3 separate regions of the Homo sapiens genome follow, and regions 1 and 2 are each linked to region 3. The links are contacts of gene promoters, found by promoter capture Hi-C in blood cells and fetal thymus (Javierre and others, 2016). All regions are on one chromosome and are shown on one strand. The core of a region is centred on a gene start or on the middle of the fragment in contact, and the rest is flanking DNA. Distances in the headings are between cores, read along the strand shown.

Region 1 (2,700 bases), core at 146-2,645, 240 kb after region 3:
GCTGACCTGGCTAATTATATAGTCATATCATGCAGAATACAATATATTGGACAAAACTTAATATTTTCTAGATGATAATTAAAATTGCAAGCCTTCTTTCTTCATTGCATGAATGTTAACATAATGTTTATACATTTCTTTGCCTTTCAAGTGTGAAATTAGAGTAAATGGGCCACTAACTGGTCCCTGGAAGTAGAATAATGACCAGCTAACTGGACTGTAAGTCTCTACATTCACTGTAACTGCAGAGAATTTGATAGGTGATTATTTAATACAGTTTCAAATGATTTTCCACTATACTGGAAGAACTAGTATATGTCTCAATAATGCCTGATCACCTTCAGGATTTTTTGATATTTCACTAAACAATACATTTATCCTATTTGCCTGTTTTATTGAAAGTACTCAGATAAAATGTTAGGTAGAGAAAAATTACCACATATATGAAAGGGAAATCTGTATTCCTTGTATTGAGTATACTTTTCTTTGGCAGAGGACATAATTTAAAAAGTTAACCATTATTGAGGAATATTAAAGGAATAGATTATTCCATTTTATGAACAAAATCCAAAACAAATGACAAATGGCTGTCCAAGGATGTATTTATTTTATTTTTCTTGAAGCTCAGGTTTAAACTTCTCTATTTCAAACATCACTCATTATTTCAGAATAATGCCTAGATTTGTTTCACAGGCTAAAATCATTGCAATAACAGATTAGAAAACAGTCAATTGCCATTCTAATAAAAAGCTTTTGGTAAGAGGCTCATTTACAAGTCCTGAAAGAAGGAAATAGACTTAGTCACTGAACCACTCAGTAATACATTTTAGAAAAGTCATACAAATCATATCACATCTTCAGAGAATACACAGTGGCTTAGTACCTCTATGGCTTCAAGAACTACCTTGGTAGGAACTATAAAAGCATATTATAGTCCCATAGGTTGTGGTAGGTCAGGATGTGTGTGTTTGTGTGTGTGTGCTGTATGCGTGTATGTATGCGTGAAAGAAAAAGAGACAAAGAGAAAAAAGAGCAAGAGATTGAGAATGAGCAGGAAGAAAAGAAGAGAGTTGATTCTTACTATTAAACACAGGATTCTGAGAAAGAGTCAAAAACTATTAATCTTTGAATTAAAGTAAAGAGAGAAAGCATTTCCTAATATTTGCAAAATGGCAGTCTGGAATTAGGAATGGTATCTATCTGTTCTAAATAGTGCAAGTATAAATTACACTAAGAATTCAATCTATAGGAAGGCCTCAGTGACAAGATTTAACAGTTATAGTAAACAAGTTATAGTAAACAATTATTAGAAAGTTAAAATTTTGTAAATTATTAGAAAACATAATTTTGTGTGAGAAAAATGTATAAATACCAACTGCCTTGATTCAGCCTGGATTAGAATTATAACTGAAATCACAGGCCACAAGACACCATGGTATATGATGAGAAGAAAAGAAGGTTGTAGAAACAATTGCTTTTGAGAATGCAATGCACTGTTTTATGCTAAAATTGCCAGAAAAGGTAGAGGACATCCAGTTAAATTTCAGATAAACTAATTTTATAGTCAAACTATGCTCAAAATATTGCATGGAATATAATTATGCTAAAAATAATTTGCAGTTTTCTGAAATTCAAATTTAACTGTGCATCTTATATTTTTATACGCTAACCCTGGAAACTCTATATTAGACATTAACTGATAATGTAAATAATAGAGATAATATTGATACATATTCATGAATTTTAAAAAACATAAAATAATTTTCCCGGTGGTGCTAAAGCCAGGTGTTTTAAAAACAAAAAAATGTTGCAATGTGATTTTATGTCAGTTGTTATGAAGACCCAAGGAATAAATAATAGTAAGCAGTCAAGATACATTATATGGAACCCATATTTTGTCATTTTAAATTTGAATTTCTGGTTGGATTTTCTTTTTTAAGCAAGAAGGGCAATAAGCCCTCCTGTGATCTGCTTTCTAGTACAAAATATCTGTTACAGAATGTAACATTTACTTAAGGCTTTGATTATTGTAAAGCTTAGTTTATGTATATGTTTGTTATGGTCAATTATCAGGATGGAAATTTTACTTTTTGAGAATATACCTGTTTGAATTTGAGTTTATTTACCTAAATTGTAGTGTACATACTAACACTAGAATCATTAACTAATTTTAGACAATTTAACTTCCAACACTATTGTATATAAGTGGCATGAATTTACTTGATGGGCATCATGACCCTGTGTTGATTTTCTTTCTACAAGTCTGCATGCAAATGATGTATTTTGTGATGTTAGCAGATTAATTTCCAAACACAAAATGAAGCATGCTTTAACAGTTGTAACAGCATTATTCTAATGTCTGAAAAGAGGCATTGTTTCTGTGAAAATACATTTACAAACTTTATATTGTAAAACACCTGTTGAAGATAGCATCAACATTTCCTATGCTCATTTCTACCTTTAAATTTGGACCAATTCTTTTCCCTCGCCTAAAATATTTGTTTCTGAGCTTCCACCTATGCAAATTCAGCTCAGCCTTTAGAGCTTGGATAAAGATATATAACCATATGATTAAAAAAAAATAATCCTCTGCAGTTTCAGCTTATGGTGATCTCTCCATTTTTCTTCATTCTCAAAATAAGTGTGGTCTCCACTACCTATCTTCACACATACTGATTTTACTTTTTTTTTTGGAGATGG
Region 2 (2,700 bases), core at 76-2,575, 220 kb after region 3:
GTAAACTTCCTCATATTTTTTTCTTTTTTGAGTCAGGGTCTTGCTCTGTTGCCCAGGCAGAAGTGCAGTGGTGTGATCTTGGCTCACTGCAACCTCTGCCTCCTGGGTTCAAGCAATCCCTCAGTCTCAGCCTCCTGAGTAGCTGGGACTACAGGCAAGGGCCACCATGCTTAGCTAATTTTTGTATTTTTATAGAGATGAAGTTTAGCCATGTTGCCTGGGCTGGTCTCAAACTCCTCTGCTCAAGTGATCTGCCCACCTCGGCCTCCCAAAGTGCTGGGGTTGCAGGCGTGAGCCATCGTGGGCAGCACAGTATATGAATTTCTTACCTCTCATATTCGTTTTGTGACACCATCACAGAATTTCTCAATGACAACATACTCTTTTCCTACATTTGCTCTTTTCCTACTCCCCTCAACTTTTACAAAATCTGCCTTGTTGCTTAAAACACTATACAAAATTTACATTAGAAACATAATGTCTACGTAGCATCAGCACTGTGGCATTCACATTTTCCCACTGTGAACTCTAGGCAATGTATCCATGACTGTCAAGCATTATAGCATTCCATGCTCACTCAATTCACAGGCTGTTCCTGGCGGTTTCACAGAACTTTTCAAGTAATTACTTTCTTTAGTATCAAGGGACTTATAACAACCAAAGAGCATGTTGCTCATCTCAGTCATTGTCTGGGTGCAGTGACACCCATTCTAAAGGCACTGACACTATTTTGTGAGCCTGACCTCATGATTGAGATCACATAATTGCAATAATTAGGAAACTCACCTCAGGATATTATCAAAATGACCCACCCAAACCCAAGTCCATATGGTTTGAAATAGCTAATGAGTCAGTTAATGTGCTATGTCCAGGAGTAATGGGTACTCAATATGGATAGCATGAAGGTATAATTTACCAACGTTCTGACTGATTAAGGGTTTCAAGTGGACATTTTACAACCTAAACAGGGTATGAAGTATTAACACTTTTGATGGTTGAGACAAAAGGAAGAAACAGTGTTTAAAAGTCAGGGACATTGGAACTTGAACAATTTCTTTCAATCATATTTTCCAGGCTTACAAAGTTAATACTATATAAAATGGAATGAAGATGTAGGTTTCGGTAGCCAATTGTGATAATGTGGAAAGGTATGGGGGATGCTACTGGCTGAGTCCTTTGCATAACAGAAAAATAAAGAAAATGCTGAAAATTCAATCCACTGATTTGGGGGTGGGGTGGGGAAAAGAGGGAAAGTTCTATTACAAAGAAAAGATAGAATTAATATTAACAGATGTCTATATGGAAGGGATTCACTGAGTGATTAGATATATTTTTATTTCATGGTAGTATAAACCCAGATAAACGGTCATAGTATTTTTGGCTAATTTGTTGTCTGCAGTATCTTGGAGACAATAAATATTTAGTCCAAGCATACGTATAAATTGGGATTAAGAAAAATTCTAAAGTAATGTTTTAATACTAATTTGAAACCTCTATGATAAAGGTCTGTATTACATTTTTTATTTTGGATATGAAGGGATGTAAGCCCAGTGCATTCTTATACAGAGTGCTTAATTTGGAGTCCATACACACTCAGTGGGTCCCTGGTTAGATGTTAGGAACAATCTGTGAGCTTGGAAAGGAGGGAAAAAAAAATCACATTTTAATTTTTCACTCATTTGTACTGGAATTTAGCATTTCCTGTAATTATATAGCAAATCATTAGGATTAGCATTATGTGTGATTTTTTCCCACAAAAAGTAGTTGAAGATGTTTTCATATCACAATAGAGCTGTTTAGCTCTTCCAAAATATCATTCATATTCATCAGTATTACAAAAGTCTGGCTGATATTAGACCTACTGCCAGGTCTAATATTTAAAAACCAATTTTAACATACTTTGTTTCTTTTATAATTGTATATTTTTAGTTTTATCCATTTTTAAAACATCAAAAACTTATAGAGAATGGGTCCAAACACTCTCCTAGACTATCAAAGGGGTCTATGGCACAATAAAGGTTAAGAACATGTGCTATACTATGCAGTGGATTTATCAAGGTCCAAATGTTTTATACTGGACCAATGGCTTTTAGTTCCAGGTATCAGAATTAACTTGGAGATTTTACTTTATTATTTTAGAAAAAGATAATATGTGCACTTTAAAAAATGTTCAGTTGTACAAAAAGTTATACAATGGAAAGTGTCTCATGCCAGCTCTGTTTCCCAGAAGCATCCACAATTTCTTATGAGCCTGTCTGGAGACATTCATATTTAAGCATATAATACATGCAAATGTTTATGTACATACACTTACATAGAACATGTATTTTTCTGCTTTTAACACAAATAGTAGCATACTTGGCACAATAACCTTCATTTGGCACTTAACAGTATATCTTAGCAGGGCATGGTGCTTTGCACCTGTAATCCCAGTGACTTGGGAGGCTGAGGCAGGAAGACTGCTTGAGGCCAGGAGTTCAAGACCAGCCTTCAAAACATATTGAGACTCTGTCTCTAAAAATATTAAAAAATTAGCCAGACATGGTGGTACACACCTGTAGTCAGAGTTAGGTAGGAGGCTGAGGTGGGAGGATTGCTTGAGGCCAAGAGGCTGCAGTGAGCTGTTATCACACCACTGCCCTCCAGGCCGGGACAACAGAGCAAGACTCTGTCTCTAAAAACAAAACAGTTTATCTTGGC
Region 3 (2,700 bases), core at 21-2,520:
GTTTCTTTAGAGATAAGGATATTTCTTTCCTGTGGGTATAGGAAGAGCACCTCTGGATTGAGGATCCAATGACCCGCCTCAGGGAAGAAGGATGGGAGAAGGTCAGAGAGTGATCTTAGGTTTTGTTGTTTTCTCAAATGTCAAGGGGCCATATTTTGGGGTAGCATATCCTGAACCCCATCAGCGGTGAAAACTTGTATTTCTACATAGTTCCCAGGTGATGCTGTTGCTAGGTTCTAGGATCACGTTTTGAGAACCACTGCTTTAATGTAATTTATATCTAACCACTGCTCCAGCATTCTTTTCTGTAAGCATCCAGAATGCTGTGACAAATTCTTGTCAAACTTTAAGAATCTTCAGGATGTCAAATTCTGTCTTGAGGTCAATAAAGATGGGTAGGGGACGAAATAATCTTTGCTCAACCTTTGGCACATTACAATGATGTTTTTCAAATAGTAGGGCTCAAACGTGATGCATTGGAAAATTGGAAAATTGGAAAATCAAATAATCATATGGTAAATATTTTAGTAGGTTTCTTATTTAATCAACTCTTAATAAGATGGGATGGATAACATTCCTGAGTTAGAAAAACATATTGCAAGCGCTGTCAGAGGAAAATTAAGTTCAAGTCCATCAGCAATCTTTACTCATGTTTTGCTTTATATATTTGTGAGTGCCGTACACAGAACTGAGTCCAGTGTTGACTTGAGTCTAATCAATACACATATACGTATACATGTGTGTGCCTCAAATATATCTGATTGAACTTAGTAAGCCACAGAACTGTAATATATATGATATAATCAATGTGTTATACATTATATTACAATAATTATACACAAAATAATACATTATTCTGTATGTTAAGGGAGAGAGGACAACAGCAAAGAAGACAGAGTGCTACAACGTCCAGGCTGTAAAAGTCATTTTATTCTGGAGGAAATGCAACACCAAAGTTGTAACAGTCTTTCAATAAAGTAAAACAGAATCATCGAAAGGGCTCCTGGGACAATTGAGGCTAGAATGATCTTGGTCAGTCAGTCCTGTGGACTTGAGGGCAATCTTCCCTCCCACTACCGGTTGGGGAGCCCTGATGTCGCCTCCCGCAGAGCGCCACTTGGCCTGGCCTGCGCTTCACCTTCATTTCCGCCCGCGGAATCCTCCAGGATCTTCCCGCCAAGGCTGGGGTTTCCGCTCCGCGGCGTCCGAGCGCCAGCGGACTGCGCATGTGCAGGACCCAGCAGGTCTAGAGCTTTTCTGTGTTTCTCCGGACTTCGAGCCATGGCGGTGACGGAAGCGAGCCTGTTGCGCCAGTGCCCCCTGCTTCTGCCCCAGAACCGGTCGAAAACCGTGTATGAGGGATTCATCTCGGCTCAGGTACCCGCCCAGTGGTTGCTTTCTAGCTAAGAGAGCCTCTTGCAGCGTAGCTGCGCGGAGAAGTCTGTGACGGGCTAGGAGGTTAGGGGCCCAGACTTGTGGGGATTGAGAGGGGCGGCGCGTAACGGCTCTTGGGAGACTAAAGGTTTGAGAAGCGCCGCTGTCGCCGCCACCCCGGTGGTCGCCGCGCTGGATGGGGAGCGAGGAGGCGCGCGGCGTGGAGCGGGGCTGGGGCCACGCCTCCTCTCTCCCTAGCCCTTCCCCGAGTTTGGCTTCCTTCTTCGTTCAGTGTCCCGCAATTGACTGTTTTTTAATTTTTTTTTTGTAAATTTTGCCTTAACTCGATTTTAACACCCTCCACCTCCACGGATGTTGATGAGTTCACTCGGGAATCTGGGCTAATTATTTTCGTGTTTCCTGTAGAAAGAACATTTGGGAAGAAAACCTTATTTTGGCCCTTTGCCAAGTCGTATGTACCTGTACACCCACAGTTACAATATCTTCTAGGAGAAGCATGACAGCAATGGAATTAATTAACTTTGCTGATTCCAGTGGCCTCTCATATGGAGTTTATTACACATACTAACACATGTGTAGGGTTTTGAAGTTTACAAAGCGCTTTCCAGGTAAATAGTTCACTTAATCCTCAGCCCTTTGAGGCAGAAATTTTTAAAAGAATCATCATTCCCATTTTCTAGTTGAAGAAATCAAGGTATGGGAAACCGGAGACGTTATTTGCTGATGATCACATCAGAATCCCTTAAACGCAGGCTGTGTGATTTCAGTCCTGGATTTTTTTCTCTTTACATTGCACCAGGATACCTTAGGTTAGGAGTGTAGACTTTTCCTTTCTGACCATTACACTCAACCTTGTGCCCACTTCCCCACCATCACGCATAGTCTTTGAGTATATGTGGAATTACCATATGACCATCACAGAAAGTAGAGGTTAAAAATTCATTATTCCATATGGAAAAAAGTTAATCCACCTTTCCCTCTCCAATTAGAAGTATTCTTCTTGAATTACCTAGCTGAAAATATGATTCTCTTGTAGACAACATTTAGAAAAGTTGAAAAATTTTAAGTTACTTTTTTTTTTTTTTTTTTACAGGAAGCATGTTATACCTAATTTTAGGCAAAATACTGTTATGTATGTCTATATCTGCTAAGGCCTTTTAGGAAACAAGTACACCCATTAGAATTGAGATTAGATGAAAGTTTCTTTTATGACCATTGCTATAGCTAGAATTCCAATTTGTACCTGCCTTAGCAGTTTATTTAAATCTTAAACATTTTACGTGTCTAAAAATATTTTGTATATAT

The links. Contacts are between HindIII fragments. The CHiCAGO score rates a contact against its expected background, and 5 or more counts as called.
Region 1: a fragment that was not itself captured here is called in contact with the fragment with the promoter of FANCL in region 3 in 1 of 17 cell types (monocytes); the score reaches 5.8 in monocytes.
Region 2: a fragment that was not itself captured here is called in contact with the fragment with the promoter of FANCL in region 3 in 1 of 17 cell types (activated CD4 T cells); the score reaches 5.2 in activated CD4 T cells.

The regions. Positions count from the first base shown.
Region 1 is chr2:58,002,469-58,005,168 of GRCh38, reverse strand. It overlaps a transcript of VRK2 not described here. Among named protein-coding and RNA genes, the nearest start is that of VRK2, 43 kb to the left of the region's middle. The HindIII fragment of the contact is 1,285 bases long and covers 753-2,037 here.
Region 2 is chr2:58,020,204-58,022,903 of GRCh38, reverse strand. It overlaps a transcript of VRK2 not described here. Among named protein-coding and RNA genes, the nearest start is that of VRK2, 25 kb to the left of the region's middle. The HindIII fragment of the contact is 4,178 bases long and covers 1-2,700 here.
Region 3 is chr2:58,239,895-58,242,594 of GRCh38, reverse strand. FANCL (FA complementation group L) reads left to right here and starts at 1,270. Exons shown (of 14, transcript NM_018062.4): 1 at 1,270-1,377. The coding sequence starts at 1,282. RefSeq lists an enhancer at 923-1,082 and a silencer at 1,623-1,672. The HindIII fragment of the contact is 7,787 bases long and covers 1-2,700 here.